Linked DNA regions of Homo sapiens: all the other regions are linked to region 2. The links are contacts of gene promoters, found by promoter capture Hi-C in human tissues and cell types (Jung and others, 2019). All regions are on one chromosome and are shown on one strand. The core of a region is centred on a gene start or on the middle of the fragment in contact, and the rest is flanking DNA. Distances in the headings are between cores, read along the strand shown. Region 1 overlaps LYRM4 (LYR motif containing 4). Region 2 holds the start of NRN1 (neuritin 1). Region 3 overlaps FARS2 (phenylalanyl-tRNA synthetase 2, mitochondrial). Region 4 overlaps FARS2 (phenylalanyl-tRNA synthetase 2, mitochondrial).

Region 1 (6,425 bases), core at 3,392-5,891, 830 kb after region 2:
AAGGACATGCTTATCCCTAACTGTTACTGCATTACTAGGAAAACTTCTTTGTTCAGTCTGTAAGAGGACTGTGGCATTTGAGGACAGCCTTAAGAAGATATTAAGTAGCAGAGAATCTTCTACGCTCACCTGTGATTTCAGCAGTGGTCACACCTGTTAAGAGCAGAGTTCTTTTAAACACACGGGGAAGACACAGGAGGCCTTGAGAGTCCTCTGGCAGCTGTCGATGGTGCAACTGTATTCGCACTTTTCCATATTTTCCCTTCCTATTGGCATTCTCAAGTTTTGTGCACATGTATGACATTTACACAGTAGGGGATCTATTGAGATATTTTCAAACAGTCAACAATCCTAATCAAAATGTGTGCTACTGAAATAAGTTATTTGGAGTATTAAAACAAGTATCTTCCTGTGGACAACACTACTCATTTGTAATTATGTGATGGGAAGCTTGGGGAAATGTACAGGAGCTTTCAGAACTTATACTTCTGCCTCATGCCATTGTAGATGAAATTATATACTCACACTTTTAGAAATCTGAGATACACATTCACCAAAACTTTTAACCACTGTGAAAGAAACAGATAATCAGCTGTCATTATCCTTGTGTTCAAGATGAAGACCGAAACTTCATTTTCAAAGGTAACTCTGTCAGATCATAACATAAGCACACTTCCTTCAGTGCTTCAGGCCTCAGTAACAGCCAAGACTTATTTCTAAACCACACTGCTCATCAGGGTGCAGTCTATGAAAACTGCCCAGGAAACCTCCTTCCCATTGGTTCCTGAGGAGGGGAGGAACGGACAGCAGACAGGTGAGTACTCAATTTGATTATCTCAGGTAAAGCTTAGAACCCAGCAAAGGCTAACAGACAGTATCACTGGTAGCACCAAAGAAGCCATTTCAGATAATTTCTTAGTATTCCGTAGGCCTTAGTATACCAACAATCTGTTTCTACCACCTTAAAATTTAATAGCGTAGGCCAGGCACGGTGGCTCATGCCTGTAATCCCAGCACTTTGGGAGGCTGAGGCGGGTGGATCATGAGGTCAGGAGTTCAAGACCAGCCTGGCTAATATGGTGAAACCCCATCTCTACTAAAAATACAAAAATTAGCCAGGCATGGTGGCACATGCTTGTAGTCCCAGCCACTTGGGAGGCTGAGGCAGAAGTATAGTTTGAACCCGGGAGGCAGAGGTTACAGTGAGCTGAGATCACGCCACTGCACTCCAGCCTGGGCAATAGAGCGAGACTCTGTCTCAAAAAAAAAAAAAAATTAATAGCGTAATACAACCACCATTTTTGTTATAACTCACAGATTATCTGGGCCGGGAATGCTGATAGTGCACATGCTATCAGCCATAGCTGGGAAGACTGTAACACTGGGTGTACTCAAATGGCTGGGGTTTGGAATCACCCGGAGACAGGTCTGGTGCCTAGGCCAGGATCAGCAGCAGCTGTAGAGCAGAATGTCTGTGTGGCCGGGGCTTCCTCACATCGTGGTAGCCTCAGAGCAGTGCGACTTCCTACTTGGTGGGCAGAACTGCAGAGGAGAGTGTTCTGGAGGACAGAGCAGAGCTGTGTGGCCTTTTGTGAAACAGCCTTGGAAATATGTAGTTTCATTTCTGCCATATTTTTTTGGTCAAAGGAGTCACAGGCTCAGATTCAAAGTGTGGGAACATAGACCCCCGATTCTCAATGGCAGGGGTGTCACAAAATGTGTGACCCTGTTTTAAAACCACCACAGGCCCCCTCTCCTTAGTATTCCACTGGCCCTTTATCCTGGAAACCTCAGGAAATGGTTTTTCCTGATTTTCTTCTTTAATTCTCCTCTCCCATCCCTTCCTCAATCCAGTTCAAGGATAAGGGCCTAGAACTCCACCTGTGTCCTATTCCCTCTTGAATCCACAGGTCGAGCAGGAAAGTGAAGGATGAGGCTGGCATGTGTAGAAGTGCCAGTGGAGGGCGCTGTGGCTGACTAGAAGGCCTCTACGTTTTAAAGGACAGCTGTTCCAAACGGAGGTGGGAATGAAGTCCTTGTGTTTCCAGATTTCCCATTTTAATGTGAAATTAGATATTGAAATATTGCTTCATAATGTTTTAAAAGCATACCATGAGATCTGGGTTTATGCTCTTGTCTATGCACTGGCTCTGAGCCCCTCTTTGAAAGACCCAGAACTCATAAAACAAGGCATTATTTAAGATTGCACATTTATGTTTATCCCCAGAAATTTCCACATTGGGGTCTGGAATGCCATTGCTTCTTTAAATACTACTTACTTTAAATCATATTTGCAAAGAATTCTTGTAACTGAGAATCTAGGCGCTCAATAAATAGACCGCATCCTTCCTTCATCTGCACATGAATGGCAGCATTTTGTGCATTAATTACGTGTGTGATGTGTCTAAGCTGAATTGGCTGAGGAGCAGAACTTTAATGATTAGCTGTATAAAACTGAAAGAGAGCTTCAATTTTGACGTTAAGCCTTGCTTATCTTTTATATTCTCAGCCTTTCTCGACGTTTGTTAGAATTTAAACTTGTCCTAAGCATGACAACATCTGTTCAAAAGAGAGGGGGGATAATATATGTTTATATATACACACCTTAATTTAGTATTGGGGACCTTCCAGTTACCAATTATAAGTGTAAAGACTAAATAAAAGTTATAGAAAATTAGACAAAATAAACAGTGACCAAGAGAAGATTTAAGAAATCTGAAGCTAAAGATTTATTTTTCTGCCTGCCCTCCTTGAAGTAACCATTAAGTTTATAAATAGCCTCCTTCCTCTGAGAAGAAAGGTCCTAGTGACACCAAACAGGATGCGACGCGCTGAGTACTCTCCCCTTTCATTTTGAAACTCGAGCTTTTGTGAAGACTATCATTGTGCATCCGTCTGTCTCTCCTCATTACCACTTCTGGTTGGAGCCGGAAGCAGGACAGATGCATATAGTCCTCATTTCAACCACAGGAATTGACTTTAAAGGTGACACTGTCCTTAGTAACACAGCTGATGCCCTGTAGGGGTAAAATTAGTTGTGTTTTCTCTGTGCAGGTGAAATTTTAATGAATTTTTTGATACTCTGTAGAGCATTCACTGCAAAATGCGTTGTAAGCTCTAAACACCAACAGCTGATTGTGAAAGACTCTTTATTTTTTCTTTGCCCTAACTTAAAAAAAAACAGAGAATGTTTCCAGAGAATCTACTAAGGAAAACATCAGGTCTGACAACAAAAGAGAACTGAGAGAGCGAAGAGGAGGCAGCTTTCTGCACTTTGCACACTGGGTTGCAGTTCTCACAGAATCCTGGGGCTCAGGACAAAATGGAAGCTTCCTCCTTGGACCTGCATTTACCCCAGGCCTCGAAACAAAGCCCCCCAGTCTATAGTTTCCAGTGTCACTTCACAGATCTTTTCATACCACAGCAACCCATACTGCCAGGAATCTGCCTGTTGTCTCCAGCACAGCTTCCTATTGAAAGCAACTCTATGTCTAACCTGCCTTAAAGCAGGTTACGGCTATATTTTAAAACCCACCGCATTAATTCAGGACATATCTTTTTATCAAATGGATTTCTCTTCTGCATACATATTTAAACATGAGCCGTACACTCAGAGCAATGGACTGTTTTATGAAAGGTGATTAGCATATAGTACTCAATCAAAGAATTTGTAAATGAAAAAAGTTGAAAATATGAAATATTGATCACTGGGGTACTCATTAACTGTTCAAAAGCATAATTTAGTTGAATTTCAAATGTGTTAATGTAGGATATCATTCATAGAAAAGAAAAGGATTGTAATTTTACACATCATGTTTAACTTTTTAAAGTGTGGCATCTTTAATGCAGGTATTTGTTCTTAGAACTCTTATTGTATGACTGATTCAGACTTCGTGATTCATTAGCCCTACAAATCTCGAGAACATACATGAATGTGCTCATACAGAGGTTAGAAACTTGGGCTAGCTCAAGGGTAGCCTAAGAGAATATTGGAGACAGAAGGTTCTCATTCCTTGAGCAGTGCTCAGAGCATAGCTCCATGTATAGTGAGCATAACAGCGTTGATGTGTCTGATTGGTGTGTTGGTATTAACAAACATGTAATGGCACAGAGGACAGGAAATTTCATTACATCTCTGGCAAATTCATATTGAAAGAAAGAAGGACAGATGGTTGAAAACAGCCATAAAATATTCTATTACATGTCTGCAGAAGTCATTAGCAGTTAAAGAGATGTTATTAATGGATCAGATTCACTTGGGGAGTCATGTTTCTATAATGCACATTAAAGCAATGATACTTCCGGTATTTTTAATGCAGTCAGGGCCAAAGACAAACCTGTCTTTCTGAATAATTAGAAAATGGATTTATTGGCAGTGAAGAAGCTGCTCTTCAGCTTGACTCCAGATCATTTGGGGAGGTTGTTTTTATCATCTAATGTGAAAGAGTAGAATGTAACTGGCTGCTAGCCCTATAGGTCACTGAAATAATGCCATATTGCTTTATTAGTATTTTGGGGGAGAAAGGAAGGAATAAAATTAGTATTTCTGAAAATCATCAAGGAATAATTTTAGTCTCTCAAGTGCCTTAACGTGTCTCTTTAGAATTAATGCAAACATCAGGGTTTTGACTTTGTGAGCATGAGAATGATTTTTGGTGCGTGTTTCTGTCTGTGTGATAAACAAAACAGTGTCTGTGAGATGCTGGGGAGCCCTTTGGACCAGGTGCAGTCATTTGTGTGGTCCTCCCTTTGCAGAGAGGAACTTTCAGCCCCACAGGTCCAGGATGTGAGAACACGAGATGCTCAGTCCCTGGGAGGAGAGCTTTCCTTAGGGCATCTCACATTTCAAAGCAGGGTAGGGTCGGGGCAGCTTAGTGACGCTAGCATCAAAGCAAAAGGAAGGGAGGTGCTCGTGAAACTGTGGTCATCGTTCCTGGACAGTCCAGAGCTTCCTCTCCCTCGAAAGTATTTGGAAATGCACCGACAAATCCTCCCTCCTCAGCTCCTTTTTTTGGGCCTTCTGAGAATTGTTGCCGCTCAGGTGATGCTCTTCCGTGCTGTGCAGCTCGTGTTACAGCGTGCTTTCCCAGCATGTTGGAACACACGGTGTGCAGCAAATCCTCACTTGCCTCCTTTTAGATCAGCTGCCACCCTAGGGTTTCCGGGTAGGCCTGTCGTCAGGTGGTTAGTATGTCTCCAGAGCACCTTTCAGGGATGGTGAAGGGTTCCTGAATGCAGCCTGTGAGGCTTGTGGGTGTTGACTCTTTGCATTCTGTAGCCAGGAGAGCTTTCCCTAAAGGACACGACCCAGAGCTCCACATAAAGACTGCAGTCCTGTCCATGACCCTCTATTGCCATGTGGGTGTCACTGTTATGTTTATGGACTCTCTTCCAATGGAGTGGTGATTTACAGTGTTCTGTCCTAGAAATTGATGAACTCTGAGTAGGTTTTCCCCCATTCATAATTCTTCCCGTATCCCTTCAACCTAAAAATCATGATAAAAAACAATTTAAAGATGCTGTATAAATCTGCCATGTTTGATAAAACAGGGGAAATCTCATCACCTACAATGACAGTGGTGTAAAAGCCCTGCATTTTGTATACTTTTGCTTCATGAGGGTTTTCGCCACAGAAAGAGGTGCTTTGTCAGCACGTTAGACTCTTAAAATGTTTATACGGTTGGTTAACAAGCACCAGCAAAATGGTAACAACTGCTTATCGATTCTTATATCGAGTACGGGAAAAATTTAAACTCCCTGATTTATTTCTGCTTATAAAAATATTTCCTGGCTTTCTTTTAGCCTTCACTGTTTCTCCCCCCACCACTTCCCCTAACACACACACCAGGAATCATTTATTTTTGTTTGATGTTGGTGTGTCTTTCTCAGGCAAGAGGTATAAACTGGAGGCCAGAATAGGTCTTCCAAATGTTAGATGCTGAATGGCTTTAGTGATTCACAGTTGTAAACATAGGAGCTGGAGGGATGGAGGACTCTCCCGAAACAGTGTTTTAGTGTTGTGCCTGACAGGAAAGGAGAGTTAGGGTAGGAGCTGGAGAGGGATGTAACGTAGATGGATGACTAGGGGTTTGGTTGGCATTAGGAGGGGTGGCTTAAGGGAAGTATTGCTTTTTTATTACACAGATAATCTGTGGTTATTGTAATAATATTTGAGGGTAGAAAGAATATTCATAATCTTTTTATCATGAAATATTATTTTCATGTATATCCTTTCAAAATGTTATTCCACAGATAGATAAATATGAATGCATAGTTTTCCTTAAATGGAATCCTACTAATCATTTATAACTTACTTTTATTATTTCCTAATTTCAAATTAACATCTTTCATCAGTAAAAAATATGCCTGCATCATCAGTTTAAAATGGACACATAGGGTACACTCAACGCAGTAACCATCATATG
Region 2 (6,271 bases), core at 2,605-5,104:
GGCCTCCCAAAGTGCTGGGATTACAGGTGTGAGCCACCGCGCCCGGCCAGCAAGGCCTTGAAGTTTCAACTAATTTTGTAAAGAGTCTCAAGATCAGAGAGTGAAAAAAATCACCTTACCAAGCCACAGATGCAAGGGTAGACCCAGGCCTCCCGAAGTAGATTTTTACTGGGGCCTCTACCAATGTATATACCTCCACAAAAATCTCCTTCCTCTCGTAATCTATATGATTGTTTAAATACAGTATAGTTATCATTTTAATGAAAAGTTATGTAATATAAATTCACATTTTTATTAAAGGTTTTAGCTGAAGATATTTAAATGACTGACTAAATTTATGAGAGAGATGTATTGCTAGACCAATCTATTCTAATAGAGCAGCGATTTTTTCTGACCTAGAATACAAAGATGGGATTTCCTAGTGGCCTTGACAACTGCTCTTGCAAATAATTTCAAAGGGTTGTTTGTCGAGGTGGCAGCTTCTGGAAAGCCGACCTATGATGGATTCATAGCAGGAGCTGGGGAATCAACTGGCATACTGCTCATCCAGACTAGGGCTGTAGCGCCATGAAACGAGAAAGGAAGTTGGTGCCCACCAGGCTTAAAATTAGACATAGTCTCTTTCTGGCCGTTCTAGGGATAAGGAATTTTGCATATTTATTACCTTAATTATGCAGACTTACTTTTGGGAGTTACTTTGGCTCAATTCAACATGCAGACCCAAACAGCACCTGTGACTTTTTCCCTCTCCTGAACTGTATTTGTTTCTTTAAACAAAATTGCTTATCAAAAAGAAATACGTTCTTTGCAAGAAGTTGGCTTATAAAAAGCACTCTTGCACGGATTTTATTCTTCGGATTGTGCGTTTCCACTCCTAATCCCATTCACAGAATTCTAGAAAATCCTCAGTTCACAAAATTTCAAAGGTGAAAACAGCTTTGGAAATTACTTCATAGTCCACTCTCCTTCATTTTCCAAAGTGTGGGGGTCAGCCTGTGAGCTGGGTTTCCCTGCCCCTGTTCACTGCTCTTCCCACTGCATCTTCAACCCCAAGTATGATGTGAGATGAGCTTTTCACATTAATAAAAGAGGGAACGTTCTCCAAAGCCACCTCCAACCATGGATGCTACCGTTCCCAGACAGCATGCATTGACAACCATGAAATGCAATATCCTTTAATTAAAGAACTACGAAGAATCAACCCTGCATGGAGCCTGGACTGCAGAACGACCTGTAATTTAAAAGATGAGAATTTTTCAAAAAATAAAATGTCATGTGCATCTATCTACCCAGAAAATCATTTATGTAGAGTACCAACTCTGTTTGCCTCTCTCTTCTTCACTTTTAAAAAGACTCAGGCCTATGAGGGAGGTTGGGACGCCTGGGGAGGAAAATGAAGAGAGGAAAAAGTCAGCGGGGGTTCCCTCCCGGGGTAGGGCGGTGAGGCGCAGCCACGTCCCAAGGGCAAGAACCGGATCGGCCCGGGGCGCGGCGCGGGCGGCTGTGCGCACGCGCGTGGGTTCACCCGCTTCATTGAGGCCCTCAGCCCTGCCTACTCCACATCCCCAGCGCCCCACGCTCAGAGTTACAGGGGAGGGGTTGGAGAGGATCCCAGAAAATGATGCTGTGAAGATCCCAGGTGGATAAGCAGGAGGAAGGCAAGGACGTTGAGGGCAAAAAACCTTAAGCCACTCCCAAGCCTGGGCTCTGCACGAGTCTGAGCGAGGTTGGGGGCCCGCAGCTGGTGGCCTGGTCCGGGAAAGCTGGGCCGGCCCCACGCGGAACCCCGAGCGAGGGGCGGAGCCGTGGGCCGGGCCGCGTGGCAACCCCCCTGAGGCCCCGCCCCTCGGAAAGCCTCCCGCCCTGCCATTGGAAGACGTCGGGGGAGGGTCCGAGAAACGCCCCCCTCTCGCCACCAGCCCCCGCCCCACCCCTTGTCCGCCCACGTTTTCGGTTCTTCCCGGAGCCTCCGAGCTCGGGGAAAGGAAACACCCGGGGCCGCCACCGTGCCCCTGGACACCGGAAGGCGAGCCCCCAACCGCCCCGCCCGCAGGCCGGTGACATAACCAGGGGCGGGGAGACATGACTCCGCCCCCAGGGCCAGGAAGGCTGCATGGGAGTCTGAGGCTCCCGCGGGACGTGAGTTAGGGGCCGCACATTGCAGACACCTCACGTCACCAAGTGCTGCAGTAGGACCCCCGCAGCTTCCCCTCGGCCCCCTACCCTCCACAGCCTGTCCTACCCCCGTTATTTTGCACCTTTCTCCCCCTTTGTCTATGCATCTCCAAATATCTGAGTATGGGGACGGCAAGATTGGCCCTAGAGGGCAAGCTGCCTGTAGAAGCAAATTCAACGCTTCTCCTTAATCCGTGTGCATTTCTACAGTTTGACAGCTTGACGTCCTCTAGTGTAGTTTGGCAAAATTTGGGGGGTCGTTTTCATTTTTTTCTCTCCACAGGCTTAAGGATTAAAGCTGGCCAATGCCTTCTTTAGCATTTTATTAAAGACGCTACAATTTAGACTTTTTTTTTTTCTGTTTGGTGCAGAAGAAAGGAAGAAAACCAGAGCTTAAAGGCGTTTAGAAAGGAAATAGCCCTGTTAGTTTTTCGGTTTTGACTCAAGCTGTCGTCGATAGCAGCTTGCACCTAGCACAAAGCCAGCTGCAGAAGTATTTTGTTGCAGGGTAGGCTACACCTACACAGGGTCTGTGCCTGAGCATCAAAAGACAGTGCAGGTGTGTGTGGGTCCGGGTGTGCGTGTGCGTACGTGATGTACGTGTGTGCGTGTGGGTACGTGTGTGTGTAGCCCAACAAATAAGCCCAAGAGGCGCATCAAGATTAGAAAGAAGTCCGCACACCAGCGCTTGCCTTGGAAATTTCCTAAAGCGCTGAGAGTTGGTTGGTAAATCACTAGTATCCGAAAACTGTCTTATCAGAGGCTCCTTCCCCGGTGCCCTACTCGCCCCCTAAAACAGGTGTCGCTGTGTCCCTTGAAGCGGCCTTTGGCCCGCTGGGGCATCGCAGGTGGGTAAAATTCAGAGGACATTCGGTGTTTATTTCTGGGGCCCCACGTGTGCAAACCAAACCCCCGGGGCCTGGGCGTGTGCGCGCGCTCGCGTGCCTTGTGTGCGGGCGGGCATGGGGGCGCTCGGCGCGGCTGGCGGGCGTGCGCGCGCGCGTTTGTGTGTGTGTGTGTGTGTGTGTGTGTGTGTGCTCGTGCGGGGGGCCGGGCTGCGTGCTCACGCGCTCCAGGCTGCGCCCAGAGCTCAGCTGCTGGGTTGGAGAAAAAGAGGGTAGGCAAGCGCAGGGGGCGGGCGGCCGAGGAGCGCTTTCGAATTAATCGAGCTAGCTTAGCTGTTTTTCCCTCTCCCGCTCCTTTAAACCCCCCTGCATCGTAGAGAGCGGGCTGGATTCTCTGTGGTGCTGATGGAGGAGGGGGAGCAGGTTGAAACAATCGAGTGGGCGCGCCAGGACTCCCCAGCTCCTGGCGGGGAAGGGAGGGGGAGCCCCTGTTCTGCGCAGGGAGGCGGCGGGGCTGGGGGGCCCCCGGAACGAGGAAGAGGCAGGGGTGACCGCTAGAATAGGAAAGTGCTCACCCCCGGGAGGCAAAATTTCGTTCAGATCGCACATTAATTGGAGATATCTGATTAATTCCAGCTTCTGATGACTATAAATGGCGATTCTCTACCAAGGTGTCTATATTAAAAAAAAAATCATTCCGTGTCATCCCCCACGTCAGGCCTGCTCGTGGGCGTGAGGCTGTACTTCCTCCGCCCCCTTCTAATGGAGTGAACCATTCCCAGCTCTCCCCCCCCCCTCAGCCTCTCTCTCTCTCTCTCTTTCTCTCTCTCTCTCTCTTTCTGTCTCTTCCTCGCTCCCTCTCTTTCTCTCCTCCCTCTGCCTTCCCAGTGCATAAAGTCTCTGTCGCTCCCGGAACTTGTTGGCAATGCCTATTTTTTGGCTTTCCCCCGCGTTCTCTAAACTAACTATTTAAAGGTCTGCGGTCGCAAATGGTTTGACTAAACGTAGGATGGGACTTAAGTTGAACGGCAGATATATTTCACTGATCCTCGCGGTGCAAATAGGTAAGTGGCCGCTCAGCCCGGCTGGAGGCTGGAGGCGGGAGGCAGCCTGCCCCGGCCCGAGGCGCGGAGGGGGACTAGCGGGTCCGCGGCCGCCCCAGGGTGCGGAGAAGCCGGCAATCCCCCGAGGGTGGGGGCATCAGTTCCTGGGGACTAGCGCGTCCCAGATCGGTTTTTCCTAAAGCTATAGATTCCAAATGTTCGCCAGGAAATGTGTGCGGCCGGACATTTTCTGGACACGGTTTTTTTCCCCCTTTTTCCTGAGCACACATCCATTTTTGTTTCCCTTTCTGGGTTTATACCAGGTTTGGTGCGCTCTGGGGCAATGTACTGGCCCCTGCGATACTGCAAGATATGATTTTGAAGAGTCGAAATGTGAATGCAGGAATAAAATGGCTAGGCAGCCAGGACTGGAAAGTTTATGTGCTGAAAGCAAAGATATTCCAGGGCTCAGACTGCTGCATTTAGAACTTTGTCATTCTCCCGCCCCTCCTCCCCCCTATATCCTAGCTGCAGCGTTTGCACGGGCACCGCAGACCCGGCTGGTGGGCAAATCGAGAGTGATAGGGAACTTCAGACCACATATTTTAACATGCTTACCATTGAAGAGGATGAATTCAGCCAAATTTACGTAGATATACTTTTCTAGATGCATTTGCCTGCTACTTTACACATTGGTGTCTGCATTTTATATATAGGAAAGGGTTAAGAAGTGTTTGGAATATGTCATGTCGGGTGTTTGTTATTTTTGTTTGTTTGGGATTGGTTATGGAAGGAATTATTTAGTCCCCATTTTATGTTAAGGAATGTTGAGTTGTAGTTACGCTGTCAGGGGTCTTTTTAAAGTTCACATTTTTACCATCCAGAATGAAGAAAAGATATAGAAGAGGGCACTAGAAAACCCCCTTCTCCGACACTGGGTCAGAACATTAATTAACGTGGCCTAAAAGTGAAAGTGAAGCAGGTTATTAATAGAATGGACAACACGGGGGAAAAAAGAAACTCCTGAAACGGAATTGTTACCTCCTATCAGTTCAGGCTGTGGCATTCTTTGCAGACAAATCCTTGCAGTATTGGGGGAGGGGGTGCTTTAGGTAATTGGTTTGGGGCAAGAAAGGAGAATGCATAATATGTTTTTTCCATAAGAAATGTGAAGGAAACAAGGTTTGGAGTTCTCTAGACCTTAAAATGGATTCTTTGCAGTGGGGTTTTATGCAACTGACATGATTTTGAGATTTTATAATGCAGAAACATTATAAAGATTTTAGAGTGTGTGAGTGCAGGATATTGGTGTTTTCCTTTAGTTCCAAAAAATGACAATGCTTTAAATCTGGTTGTTTTGAATCTTTGACATTAGTGAAAAGAGCTGCTGTAAATAATATTTCTAATGGCAGCAAATTCCTTAAATGTTGGAAATAAGTGAATGTGGCATTTTGCAATAAACCTTTGAATTTTTAGAGAGCAGGAGAGAGAGTTGTTTTTGAGATAGAAATTTTAATCGGACAAGATTTGGGACTCTGTTTTCCCGGTAGGAAATAACCTTACTTTGAGAGGTTTGGAGGGAAAAAAAAGACGGTGGTCGTGCCTGAGGGACGCGTTTTGAACACATTAACCTCGGTCCAAAAATGACTATTTGTTGACTGTGGAATTGAAATTGAACGTATTTGTTCCCTAATGTCTGCCCTTTCCTGCAACAGAACCTCGGTCTTTATTAATTCACGGCTGGGAGCTGTCCCAAATCATTGACATTTGGCAAGAAAAGTGGGGGTTGGGAGGGGCGGGGAGGTAGAAGAGTGTGGTGAACACGAAAGAAGACGCAGCAGGAGGAAGTTCGGAATGAATGAGAGGTCGAACGAATGAATGAACGGATGGAAACCGCACAAGAAGGGGACGGCAGAGAGGACAGGGAAGGAGCCAGGGTCACCCGCTAGAGTCTCGCCTAAGCGGGGTTCAGGAAGGACAGCGAGGGACCCACGGGCTGCGACCTGCTGGGACGCGTGCGCCTGCAAAATCCGTCCCGCGCGCAGCCTCCCGGCCTCCCAGAGAAGGCTAGAGTCCAAGGAGTCACAGTTTTAAAAGACAGAAATGTTCACGACTTATTTTACACAGCACACACTCACACATGCGCGGTGTGCAGGGTCTTCTCCAGCAGCGCCTGGGAAGATAACGTGACAAGAGCGCTCCCGCCCC
Region 3 (6,768 bases), core at 2,233-4,732, 610 kb after region 2:
TCGCACCACTATACTCCAGCCTGGGTGACAGAGCAAGACTCCGTCTCGGGGAAAAAAAAAAAGAATTTCAAAATATGAAAAAAAAAAAAAAAACCCAAATCCAAAACACTTCTGTCCCAAGTATTTCAGATAAGAGATCGTCAACCTGTGTTTGAGCACTTACCATCTCCAAAAAGATGTGCCATGAGCCTGGTAAGCGTTTGCTTAAGATCAAACTCTACAAGCTTCACGGCCTCCATGGTGTGTGTCTCTTGTTTATGCGCAGAGCGAGAACTTTGTTCAAAGAGCTGCAGGCTTTCTCCATCCTTTATACCAGCAAATAACTGTAAACCAACAGGAAAGTATAAATAAAGAAAATATCCTGGCCCATCTATATCAGATAACTTTAAAATTCTGCTAAGAATCTTTTGACTCTAAAAAGTTATAATGTGGGAATAAGACTCATTATGTCCTGTCAATAAACGTAATGAAATTAACATTCACTTAGTACAACTCTGAAGAAAACACTACGCTACATGGTATGGGGGGTTTTTAGAGAATTAAGACACTCTTCTGATCTTTGCTAATCTGTTTTTGATTTGCATGAACTTATAGTCAGTTCCCAACAAGAGACATTATCCTCAATTCTAGTGGAAATACTAGTGAATCGCTTTCATATTCTAAAATTACATCCCTGACCATCCCACAGTGTCGAGGAATTAAATCCTGTAAGGTCCATGAAGGTAGGAAGCAAGCTGGAATTTGCTAGTCCTGTATCTCCAAGGCTCAAGGCAGAGCCTCAAACATGTTTCTGCCGCTTACTATCTGTGTAAACTTAGGCAAGTGATACAGTAGCTAAGCCTCAGGGAATCATCTATAAAGTGGGAATAATAATAGTAAATTAGTAGATTTTATTACAAACAAAATAATATATAAAAAATACAGAGTATCTGGCACATTCCAATGGCTAAATAAGTTTTCCTCATTATTGTCTTCATGATTATTAACCACAGCTATCATTAGTCATAAGCTGCTTTACCACTGAAATAAAGTAACTTTCTGGTCAGTGACACAGCAGGTCTTTACTTGGTAGAAGATTGGCTCAAAAGGGATAACTGAGCAAATGAATGTATCATTCTTCCCACCCAAAGTCCCATAATCAAACATAAAAAATGTTTTAATAAAAGAATGAGTCAGCTGCCATTTCTAGTAATGTTGGTTTTGATAATTAGAACCAAACTTCCTGATAAATGCTACTGAAAAAAATACAGAAATTCTTAACAGCATTGAAGAAGTAAAACCGAGATAGAGAGGAGTGACTGAACTCTACAGGAAGCATGAAGCCAGGGGTAAAAAATTAAAAAATAAAAATAAAAAATAAAGTAAGCACAAAGCCAGAGAGAAGCATTGAGAGTATCTGCCTATCTAACCTATCAACTGAAAACCTGAACATGGGTTGTAACAGCTTACCATGGAAGTGAGACAAAAGGGAAAGCTTTGCTGTGGAACCAAGCTGGGGTGTTTGAGTCCCTAAAAGACTCATCCCCCTGATGAGGATGAGCACAAAAGTAAACCAGTCCTTGTGTAGACTTGCAGTCAGGTATCACATTTTCTGAACAATAGAGAGAGCTTCAGGCTACGAAGATGATCTAAGGCAATCCCAGACATACTTCCTCTAACTGGCCAGCAAAATGAGACAAAACCGTTTTCAGAGAAATATTCTAATATCCTAGGCCTCAAATTATTCTTATGAGGACTAAAGACAATGACGGCTGTCAATGCTTCCTCTAAAAATAATTTAGAGCAACAAGAACAAATAAAACTATTGAACACAATGCCTTTGGCAGGCAGGCAGGCAGGCAGGAAGGAATGCCAGTCAAAACCTAGGGACAGAACTGTTATACTCCTACCCCACTGATAAGGCTTTGAAGTAAGCAAGAGCAAGCTGGAAAAAATAAGAGAAAGAGAGGAGAATGAGTGAGGTGCTAAGGTTGACCTTAGAAACCCAGAAAGTGTAAGTTACACTAAGTGTGAAAAGCCTTTAAAAAGTGTCCTAGTAGGCCTGAGCAGGGACCACAGAAAAGTGGTGTAAAAGCATGCCCAATTTGAAGTGAGAGGATCCCAAAACCATAGTTACAATAAAAGAAAAAGGAGTTAATACAAAGCGAAAGACAACCTTTTCAATTGAGTAGGAAGAGAAAAAAGATGCAAATGAGAAAATTCAAGGTTGTGAAAGATAAAGCACAGCTAAAAAATTAGAGGATTTACAAAACCATTCTCTAACCCACACCAAAAATAAATAAATAAACCACTAAAGTGTGCATTGCTACACTAACAGAAGAGGGCACCAGAGACTAAGGAAGTCTTTTACACAACCAAAAAGGAACGACAAATAAATTCAATAAAAATATAGAAAATTATTACTCAAAAATCAGAAAGTCAATTCAAAAGAGCTCAACTAATGAAAATCCAACTTTTCTCCCACCCACCCCCCAAAACTAAGGAGCACTAAAAAGAAACACAAACTAATACTTAAAAACTAAGTTACATATGCTCAATCAAGCATTTAAGGATATAAATTGCTTTAGTCAGAAACTCAAAAATTAAGAACAAAAATAGAGAAAAAATGAAAAGAGAATTGATTTAACTCAGAAAAAAAAAAGAAATAAAATCATCTCAGAAACAAAATCTAAATTCCAAAGCATGCAAGGGACAATGGAATCAATCAAGATTTAATGAGGGGGCATTGAAGAAAAGGAGAAAAACAACCAGAAGGAGGATGGTAAAATAAAGAAAGAAGAATCAGAAAGAAAGTGGTAGAAATGGAACACAGGCAAAGAAGGAATTACATTTATATAATTGGAGTCCGTTAAAGAGGGAAAAAAAAACAATGGAGCAGAACTAATACCAGATAAAATGGGTACCTGTGAAAAAGAACCTGGAAAAATCAAATATAGGACATATTCTTATAAAACAGATTTCATAAATAATGGGGAAAATCGTCAAGGCCTCTAGGCAAAAAGATCAACTAATGTAGAGGAGTAAAGCAATCAGAGTGGCATCAGATTCTTCAAAAACAACACGGAAACAAGACAACAATGAAGCCACATTTTCAAACAACTCAGTTTTTAAAAATGTGGGTCAAGAAGTTTATATCCATCAATGCTGTCCTTAAAGCACCAAGTCTACAGAAAAAACGTGAAACACACAAGAGCATAGGAATGTCACATTAATGAGCTCTTTCTGAAGAATTTACCAAAGCATGAGCCTTGTTCAAGTAATAAATAACTAGGAAAATTTCAGCACAAAACAAATGGAGAACATGTTAATACATAAAAATTACAGATTTCAGACTAAAAGCTGGGGATTACATTGAAAGACTAATATCCAATTGTTATATGTTCTGACAAAGTAGAAATAACGTAACTAAACAATGGAAGAAAGCAGCAAAGAGGAAAGTAGAATATACTGATTATTGCATAGGCAATAGTTAAAGAATACTTTTACTAAGAACAAAGTTAAAAATGAGGGATAAGGGACTTTAAAAGTTTTAAGTATAAAAGCAACCATTAAAACAAAAATATAACCTTTCTAAAGAGCAACCAAAATTTCAATTCAAAAGCATAATAAAACATATATTGTAGAGAAATAAAATGTAACATGTTATGACATATATAACACCACAATATATTATGATAAAGTTCAGATCGAATATATCAATAACTCAATAAATGTGAAAGTAATATCAATAAATATGAACAGGCTTAATTCACCTCTTAAAAAAATAAATCTGGCCACAAAGCATGACTCAACTATACAAAAGATACACCTAAAACAATGTTAAAAACAAATGGATGGACAGAATATAACAGGCAAATGGATACAATAAAAAAGCAAGCATAGCATTCTTAAAATCAGAAAAAGTAGAATTCAAGCAAAAAAACACCGAGCAAGACAAAGAAGATCTTGTATTAATGCTAAAAGTTTCAAATCACAGTGAAGGTATAACACTTATGAATATCTATATATCAATAAGACAATTATTACCTCTGTGTAGAAAGAACCATAGGGGACGCAAAAGACACACATAGAAACACATTAATATTAATGATAATAGGAAACTTTAATACATCATTCTTAGTATAAGATCAAATGTGCAAAATTAATAAGATAAAAGACCTAAAAACATAATTAGGAAATGAAATCATGTGTGTATACATAAATATGTATACGTATATTTTACACACACACACACACATACACACATATTAAACTTACTCCCTTCATAATGAAAAATACATTTTATTTTCAAGGGCCCAGAGAATATTAACAAAAATTGATCACATAGTAAGTCACAAAGAAATAAGTATATTCCATAAAGAAGAAATAATAAACTATACTCTCTGATTAAAATACAATAAAACTAAAAATCATTCCCATTAACAACATACAAACACACACACACATAAAGGTCTTTCCACCTGAAAACTGACAAAAAAAGAAGGGGAACAAAAGTCAGGAAACATACACCACAAAGAGGTAATACCACTAACGTAAAGAAACTTTTAAAAGTTGACAAAGGGCCAAAAACTCCATAGAAAAAGAACAGACAATTCATCAAAAAAAAGATATGAAAATGACCCCTGAACACATGAAAAGGAATTCAAACTTAAAGAGCAAATTAAGCAAATTAAAATAACACTGACATAATACTTCTATCACAATGGCAAAAAGTTAAAAGTCAGACAACATATTCTTTTGAATACGCTGAGGCTTTGGAAAATAAGTACAGTCATACTTTGCTGGTGAAAATGGAAACTGGTAGAACCCTTTTGGAGATGAATTTGACAACACCCAACAAAACTACATATTTGTTGATCTCTTGACCCAGTCCTTCCATTTCTAACTACTTACCCTGAAAATATACTTCCAACATTAATACACATGCACAAAATTTTCATTGTAGTATTGTTTGTAACTGCACCATATTTTTTTAAAAAGTCTCACATTGGAAAGATGTTAAATAAACTATGGTCTACCTATACAATAGAGTACTTTTGCAGGTGTAATAAAGAACGAGGAAGATCTCTCTGGACTGATATGGAATGATTTTCAAGACATCCTGATAAATAAAAAAGGCAAAGTGCAAGAGGGCATATATTACTTGCTACCTTTCATGTAAGAAATAATAAAATACACATGAATCATCTCATTTGTGAAAAAAAGGAAGGATAGGCTAGAAATAACAAAAATAAATCACCTACACAGAGGTGGTGGAAACAGGATGGAAAAAATGGTTGAATGGGAATAGAGTATAATGAATGGCAGAGTGGGGGTCATGACCTCTAAGTAAACCTTGTTGTATAGTTCTGAGTTTTAGAAGGACGTTAATACTTTATCTACGCAAAACATTAAAAATAAAATCCTGACACCTGCAATCCCAGCACTTTGGGAGGCCAAGGCAGGAGGATCACTTGAGGTCAGGAGTTCAAGACCAGCCTGGCCAACATGGTGAAACACCATCTCTACCAAAAAATACAAAAATTAGCCAGGCGTGGTGGCACACGTCTGTGATCCCAGCTACTTGGGAGGCTGAGACAAGAGAATCACTTGAACCCGGGAGGCAGGAATTGCAGTGCGCCTACATCATGCCACTGTACTCTAGCCTGGGCAACAAAAGGAGACTCCGTCTCGATGATGATGATGATGATAATAATAATAATAATAATAATAATAATAATAATAATAATAATAATAAAATAATATAAAATCTACCCAGAGGTGGGAAGAACACAAATGGAATACAAACAGTAATGATGGACAGAAGTTTATTCTAAATAAATGACAGCCACTTAAAGAGAGTGGAGAAGAAAAGAATTAACCAAAATAACTTTCAAAAACAGTATTTTAACTAAATAAGATGAAAAACAAAATAAACATAGCAAATATTGTACACTAGTTAGCAAATTTTTTCCACAGAGGTATGTGTTAACAATTATGAAACTACCTTTATGTTCATTCCAGGACTGAACAAGAAAATAAATATGTCATGAGTAAGAAGAACCAGGTTTCTCACTGTCACTATCAAAGGCAATGGGGAGGGCTAGAATGAGCCATGTGGTGTTGGCTTAGATTGGAGGTACTCATATGAATTCATATTTTGTAACATATATGCAGATACATCAATACGGAAATAGAAGTAGGTATATGTATTTCCTAGCTCTGTCACTAGAGGGGGCCTACAAGTAATGATATCCCTAGGGCAATAAGTATACTCAGGTCTAGGCTTCTAAATACCATTCTTTAATAAAAAAGGAACAGAGTTTCTTAAAGAAATGACTGATTCCAGGGCTGGGGTGGAGAAAGTAAAAGATGAATCTGGGATATCTCATGGGGACAAAAAATGATAACATGTCAGAGGACACAGAAAACTACTTAAGGGGCTCCCAAAGACCAAACCTGGGTAAATTTCAGCAATAAAATAAATCATTTTAGTAATAGGTTATAACCCATACAATAACCAAATATTCATGAAGCCATACTGATATAAATAATTAAATAAATATATGGGAGAGAAGGTAAAGGTCTTCCTTACAGTAAAATTCTAATTAATACCTTTAGAATAAATTAGAAAGAAAATAACCATTTGACAAACACCACAATAATTTCTGGCAAAAATTATCAAGGGAATCCAAAGTTAATAGGGCAAAATATTATGAGAACTATTTACACAGTCTCAAAGTATCTTCCTGCAAACACTATTAACTACAAAGGGGAAAATAATAATGG
Region 4 (6,282 bases), core at 2,316-4,815, 730 kb after region 2:
CTGCATTTTCTTTGCAGCTGAACTTGTACTTTTCTGGTAAATAAAAAAAATGTGTATTATTGGAACTATTAAAAAAATGTATCTGCAACCACCCATTTGTAATTGATATCCATTTTCTTTTCCTCAAAAATGTAACTGAAAAATATAGTCATTCTAAAATCTCTTGGGTCAATTTAGTTTGTTTAAAAAACCAACCATTTTGCCATTCTAAGCTGCTACTTTATTTAATGTTTTGGTTTAAGTCTTTCAAGAAGTCAAATATCTACATGTGACAAGTAACAATTAATCTGGGAAAAGAAAAGAAAAAAAAAAAACAAAACTGTGAACCAGCCCCTGCTGACAAATGCAAAAGCTTTGTGTGACATGACGCTGCACTCGCTATCTGTGCCTTCATTCAGCTTCTTCTTCAGTCACCATTTGATCAATGAATGACAGAAAGGTAAGTTAATCACAGAGCAGCTTCTATTTGAATTAGGCTTAAACACCACAGGGAGAAAAAATTATTTCTCTTTACACCACAATGCACTGAGGCTGGCTCAGGAGATACTGAGCCTGCACTGAGGAGGAATAGGTGGATTTCACTTCAAGGTAAAACAATAACATGTGTTTGTTCCTCCTGTGCTGCCTGATTTATAGAGATGGGAAGAGACAGGCAGAGAGAAATCTTTGGGGTCAGCCAAGTCCTTGGGAGTGTCTGGACAGCCCAACATGCCCTCCTCCTGGATGCCCGGCTTAGTACAGCCAGCTAATCCTGCACAAAGAGATTCATCCCTGAAGCAGAGAACAACCCACAGTCCCAGTCTCCTACTGCCCAGGGAACCACATCAGTTTGGGGACCCAGAGTGATCCACACAATTGAAGAATCACACCTCTGGGCAGAAGGTGTTGAGGATGCAGCCATTCCGTAAAGAATAAAGGGAAAGTAAAGCTCTTTGATGAGCCTCCAATTCTTAGTTCCTGCAATTCACAAGGGTATGCAGATTAACATAGTCATCACAGATTATTGTTATCAAATAGAGTGACCATATGTCTCAGTATCCCCAAGACAGTTCATGTTTATGCCTGTCATGCCAGTATAATTATTTAATAGCACCCACTTTCACTGATCTCAAGTGTCCTGATGTAGGAAATAAATTATGTGATTATCTAAATGTTAAGTAATTTACCTAAAATGATGTGAAAAAACCTATGATACAGCTGTGAAATGAGACCAAATCGACAAAATCTTAGTCAAGTTTTCTCCCTTACTATCACATATATACAGCATTTACACTCATTTCAAAAATGCACAATAAATCTTCCCAGACACGGTAAAACTAATACCAACAATCTAGAATTACAGCATGCTGAAACTAAAAAATTTATTTTAAAGTACCTCCATTCTAAGTCAATAACTTGTGTCAATAATTCTTACAACTCCCCCATTGAGCCTACTTTTTCAGAAAGAAAATAGGGTTTCCAAATGCAATTTTAAATGATTGTGACTAGTAACAGAGCTAAAATGATAGTCATTTCCATGCTTCTAGTGCTATCCAAAAGCAGAAAATAAAAACATTCACTACTAGGGGCTCTTAACTTCAATATATAAAAATAGTGCCAGCAAAGCTTAAGATAATATAAAATTCTGGGAGAATATATCGTAACGCAAGAGATAAAGTATGCAAAATATGTATCACTCTTCTGAAGGAACTGACAGGATGTTTACTCAGATACTATGCTAAGTGACTATGCTACTCCCATTATATTTTCTATTGAGGCAAACAAAATTAAAGTCTAAAAGCCTAAAATCTAAACCTAAATCCTGGCCAGTAGGGAGCAATATAATCCAAACAAATGCAACAGAATCTGTGCTGTGGCTGAACACTTCATGTTACCTAATATTCTTGGTGGTGACAGGGCAGGAGGATGAAAGATGCAGAAATCTAAAAATTTCAGGCTTATATTCCTTCATTTCCTCATTTAACAAAGATTTACTGAGCACTTAGTAGGCACTATGCCTCTAGTGATGAACAAAATAGACATGGTCCCAGCCCTCACAGAATTCACATTCTGGTGGGAGAACTCAACATTAAACCAGGAACCTTCTATTATGTAGATCTACTTTGTACAATTTTAAATTATAAAAAGTTAAGGTAAAGAACAAGATGTCATAAGAAATAATGATAAAATCAGAAGGGTGTAATTTAAACTGAGGTTGGGAACATTCCCTGAAGAAGTAACATTTAAGCTGAGTAGTCATGACTGGAGTGAAGAGTATAAGAAAATATTGATTATTCAAGAGAAGGACCCTCATATACCAATGTCCTTCAGTGCAAAAAAGCTTGGCCTTGTGTACATGTAACAAATGCATCTGTTTAAGAAGAAAAAGAAAGAAAATATCCCAGTGATTCGCAACCAGCAAAAACAAATAACTTAAATTGACAAATATAATAAATTCCAAATAAAGACTTTTGGCAAGGCTGAAGCGGGGAAGTTCTATTTTATTTTTGGCACTATATTGAAATATGTAGGGCCAGGCTCACACCTGTAATCCCAACACTTTGGGAGGCCGAGGCAGGAGGACTGCTTGAAGCCAGAAGTTTAAAACTAGCCTGGGCAACAGAGCAAAACCCCATTTCTACCAAAAACAAATTTGTTTTAATTAGCTGGGTGAGGTGGCATGCACCTGTAGTCCCAGCTACTTGGGAGGCTGATGCAGAAGGATTGCTTGAGCCCGGAAGTTGGAGGCTGCAGTGAGCCATGACTGTGCCACTGCACTCCAGCTGGGGTGACAGAGCAAGACCCTGTCTCAAAAAAAAAAGACATGGTGAGCTGCATAAAACAGAAAGACTAAATAATCGTGGCTGAAAACAGAAAGACATTAGTTGTTAACAAAACACGAAGTCTAGACGCATCCAGTTCCAGGGTTCATTTCATGGCTCAGAAAAGCCAATGTTTAGGCTGGAATCTCATATTCTCTTGGCCTTTCCTTCATGTGTGTCTGCTGAGCTTCAAGCTTTAGTATTACTTGCATTCCAAGCAGGGGAGAAGATGACACAAGTAAGCCCTCTTGTGCAAATACTTATCTTTTAATAGAAAACAAAATCTTTCCTAGAAACCTTCCAGACAACTTCCTGTTGTCTCATTAACCAGATCTGTGTCTTGTGGCTATGCCTGGCTATGACAAACAAGTATCTGGTAAAGAGGGAATGCAATCACTATGAAGCCTAAGACCGCATTACAATTCATTTCCAGGAACTAGGCACATGGCCACCCAAACAAAATCAGGGTTCTAATGGCCGGGAAGAAGTACGGTTGATATGGCTGATGGGTAGCCAACTAATACTATCTGCCAAAGTCACTCAATAATTTTTACAGGTAAGTTACAGTAGCTCCTCTTTGTCTACGGAGGTTCCAAGACCTGCAGTTGATGCCTGAAACTGTGGAGCGTACGAAACCCTAAGTACTGTTTACTATGTTTTTTCCTGTACGTGAATATCTATGATAAAGTTTAATTTATAAATTAGGTAGAGTAAGAGATTTAACAACAATAACTAATAATAAAATAGAGAACCAGATATAAATCAATACATTTACAGTCAATTTATTTTCCACAAAGGTGTTGAGAACATACAATGGGGAAAAAAAACACTCTTCAATAAATGATGCTAAGTTCCTATCTCTCACCATATACAAAAATCAAATAAAAGTAGATTAAAGATTTAAATCTAAGACCTGAAACTATGAAACTACTACAAGAATACATTGGGGAAACAACCCAGGATATTGGTCTGGGCAAAGATTTTTTGTGAAGACCTCAAAAGTACAGGCCACCAAAGCAAAAAGAGAAAAATTAGATTACATCAAGCAAAAACGCTTCTGTAAGCAAAGGAAACAATCAACAAAGTGAAAACACAACCCAGAATCTCCCACAGAATAGGAAAAAGTATTTGCAAACCATCCACCTGGCAAGGGATTAATAACCAGAATATATAATGAGCACAAACAACTCAATAAAAAAAAAACACAATCTGATTAAAAATTGGGCCAAAGATCTCAATAGACATTTCTGAAATGAAGACATACAAATGGCCAGTAGATACATGAAAAATGCTCAACATCACTAATCATCAGAGAAATGCAAATCAAAACCACAATGAGATGTCATCTAACCCCAGTTAAAATGGCTTTTATCAAAAAGGGAATAAAAGATGCCGGCACAGATGTGGAGAAAGGGGAACCCCTGTAAACTGTTGGTGGAAATATAAGTTAGTATAGCCAATATGGAAAACTGTGTGGAGGTTCCTCAAAAAACTAAAAATAGAACTACCATATGTCCAGCAATTCCACTGCTGGGAATATATCCAAAAGAAAAGAAATCAGTATTATCAAAAAGATATGTGCATTGTAATCAGCACTCCCATGTTTATTGCAGCACTATTCACAAAAGCCAAAATATGGAATCAATGTTAAGTGTACATCAAGGGATGAAAGGACAAAGAAAATGTGGCATAAAAAGACAACAGAGCATTATTCAGCTATAGAAAAGAATGAAGTTCTGCCATTTGCAGCAACATGAATGGAACTGGACATTATGTTAAGTGAAATAAGCCAAGCACAGAAAGACAAATACCATATGTTCTTACTCGTATGTCGGAGCTAAAAAAGTGAATCTCATGGAAAGAGAGAATAGACTGGTGGTGACCAGAGGCCAAGAAGGGTACAGGGCAGGAGGGATGCAGAGACATTGACTAGCAAGTAAAAATACAGCTTGATAGAAGAGATAAGACTTAGTGTCTGATGGATCACCGGGAGACTATAGATTATAATAATCTATCGCATATTTCAAAATAGCTAGAAGAAAACAATTTGAATGTTTCTAGCATAAAGACAAATATTTAAGGTGATAGATATCACAATTACACTAATTTGATCTTTATAAATTATATGAATGTATTAAAGTATCACATGTACCCCAAAAATATGTACATCTATTATGTATCAATAAAAATAAATAAATAAAAGAATCTGAGACAAGAAAAATACAAACCATTATAATCATAGTTTTTCTGCCTGTTCTCTGATTGCATTTCCTCCTTGATTTGATAATGCAACTGTTCGTGATATCATTTCCGCATAAGATAGTGGTTATTATTATTTTTTGGAAAGAAAAAAGAAAAACCCATCATTAATTCAACAAGAAAAACTAATAAAAAGTAGAACAATTATAACAATATACCTACCGTAATAAAAGTTATGAAAAAGAGAAAGAATATGGTCTCTTCTCTCTCTCAAAGTACCTCATCCCACTGCACTCACCCTGTTTCTTCTTGTCATCTATCCATAACGAAAATCGTGATCTTGTGGTAACTGAGAAGGCAACGAAGTGACTAATGGGCAGGTAGCGTGTATGCAGCATGGAGACACTGGACAAAGGGAGGATTCATGCCCTGGGCAGGTTTCAACACAAAACTCAGAACACACCCATTTAAAACATGCATTATTTCTGGAATTCTCCATTACATATTTTCAGAACATAGTTGACTCTGGGTAACTAAGAAAGCAAAACCATGGGTAAGGGTGGTGGCGGCAGGGGGTCCTTACTGTATTTGGAGCTTACGTGATTGAGTCATTACACTATTAATATTTATCGATCATTTACTATATGCAAAGCTAGATGTAAAATGTTGAAGAAACAATAGTAATCAAAAACAGACTTGGGAGGCCGAGGTGGGCACATTACAAGGTCAGGAGTTCAAGACCAGCCTGGCCAATATAGTGAAACCCCATCTCTACTAAAAATATAAAAATTAGCCGGGCGTGGTGGCGGGCGACTGTAGTCCCAGCTACTCGGGAGGCTGAGGTAGAAGAATCGCTTGAACCCCGGAGGCGGAGGTTGCAGTGAGCCAAGATCGTGCCACTGCACTCCAGCCTGGGTGACAGAGCGAGACTCCGCCTCAAAAAAAAAAAAAAAAAAAACAGACATAGTCTCTGTTCTTATACACAGCCTAATATCACAAAAAAATTAATCAAATAAAAAAATATAACTCTGGCAAGATTGCTCTAGTGAACTTTGTTCCTTTTACAAAAAATAATTCCCCTTTATCTCTAGGAGCTAGGCAACTGGTTCAAGACCAAAAGAATCCTATCTTCTCCCTGGTCACAGTTATTGGTTCAGAAATGGATGAGGACATGACACAAGGAGGGCCAGTGACATGAACGGAGAGGACTGCTGAGCACTCTTGGTCCAGAAGCTCTCTCACTCCTCTAAGGTTTTGGAAACAAGCGCCCCCAAACTGTTGA

The links. Contacts are between HindIII fragments. The study calls those that stand out against the background at their distance.
Region 1: a fragment that was not itself captured here is called in contact with the fragment with the promoter of NRN1 in region 2 in 1 of the 25 tissues and cell types used here (IMR-90 fibroblasts).
Region 3: a contact is called between a fragment that was not itself captured here and the fragment with the promoter of NRN1 in region 2, in 1 of the 25 tissues and cell types used here (lymphoblastoid cells).
Region 4: a fragment that was not itself captured here is called in contact with the fragment with the promoter of NRN1 in region 2 in 1 of the 25 tissues and cell types used here (dorsolateral prefrontal cortex).

Annotation. Positions count from the first base shown.
Region 1 is chr6:5,170,918-5,177,342 of GRCh38, reverse strand. All of the region lies in intron 2 of LYRM4 (LYR motif containing 4), which reads left to right. The region is part of intron 3 of LYRM4-AS1 (LYRM4 antisense RNA 1); the gene reads right to left. Among named protein-coding and RNA genes, the nearest start is that of MIR3691, 26 kb to the right of the region's middle. The HindIII fragment of the contact is 5,106 bases long and covers 2,089-6,425 here.
Region 2 is chr6:6,004,508-6,010,778 of GRCh38, reverse strand. It overlaps NRN1 (neuritin 1), which reads left to right and starts at 3,854. Exons shown (of 3, transcript NM_016588.3): 1 at 3,854-4,084. The coding sequence starts at 4,030. RefSeq lists a silencer at 1,804-1,923. The HindIII fragment of the contact is 19,231 bases long and covers 1-6,271 here.
Region 3 is chr6:5,398,097-5,404,864 of GRCh38, reverse strand. It overlaps FARS2 (phenylalanyl-tRNA synthetase 2, mitochondrial), which reads right to left. Exons shown (of 7, transcript NM_006567.5): 3 at 164-323. Among named protein-coding and RNA genes, the nearest start is that of FARS2-AS1, 57 kb to the left of the region's middle. The HindIII fragment of the contact is 5,265 bases long and covers 850-6,114 here.
Region 4 is chr6:5,271,237-5,277,518 of GRCh38, reverse strand. All of the region lies in intron 1 of FARS2 (phenylalanyl-tRNA synthetase 2, mitochondrial), which reads right to left. Among named protein-coding and RNA genes, the nearest start is that of FARS2, 13 kb to the right of the region's middle. The HindIII fragment of the contact is 3,203 bases long and covers 1,964-5,166 here.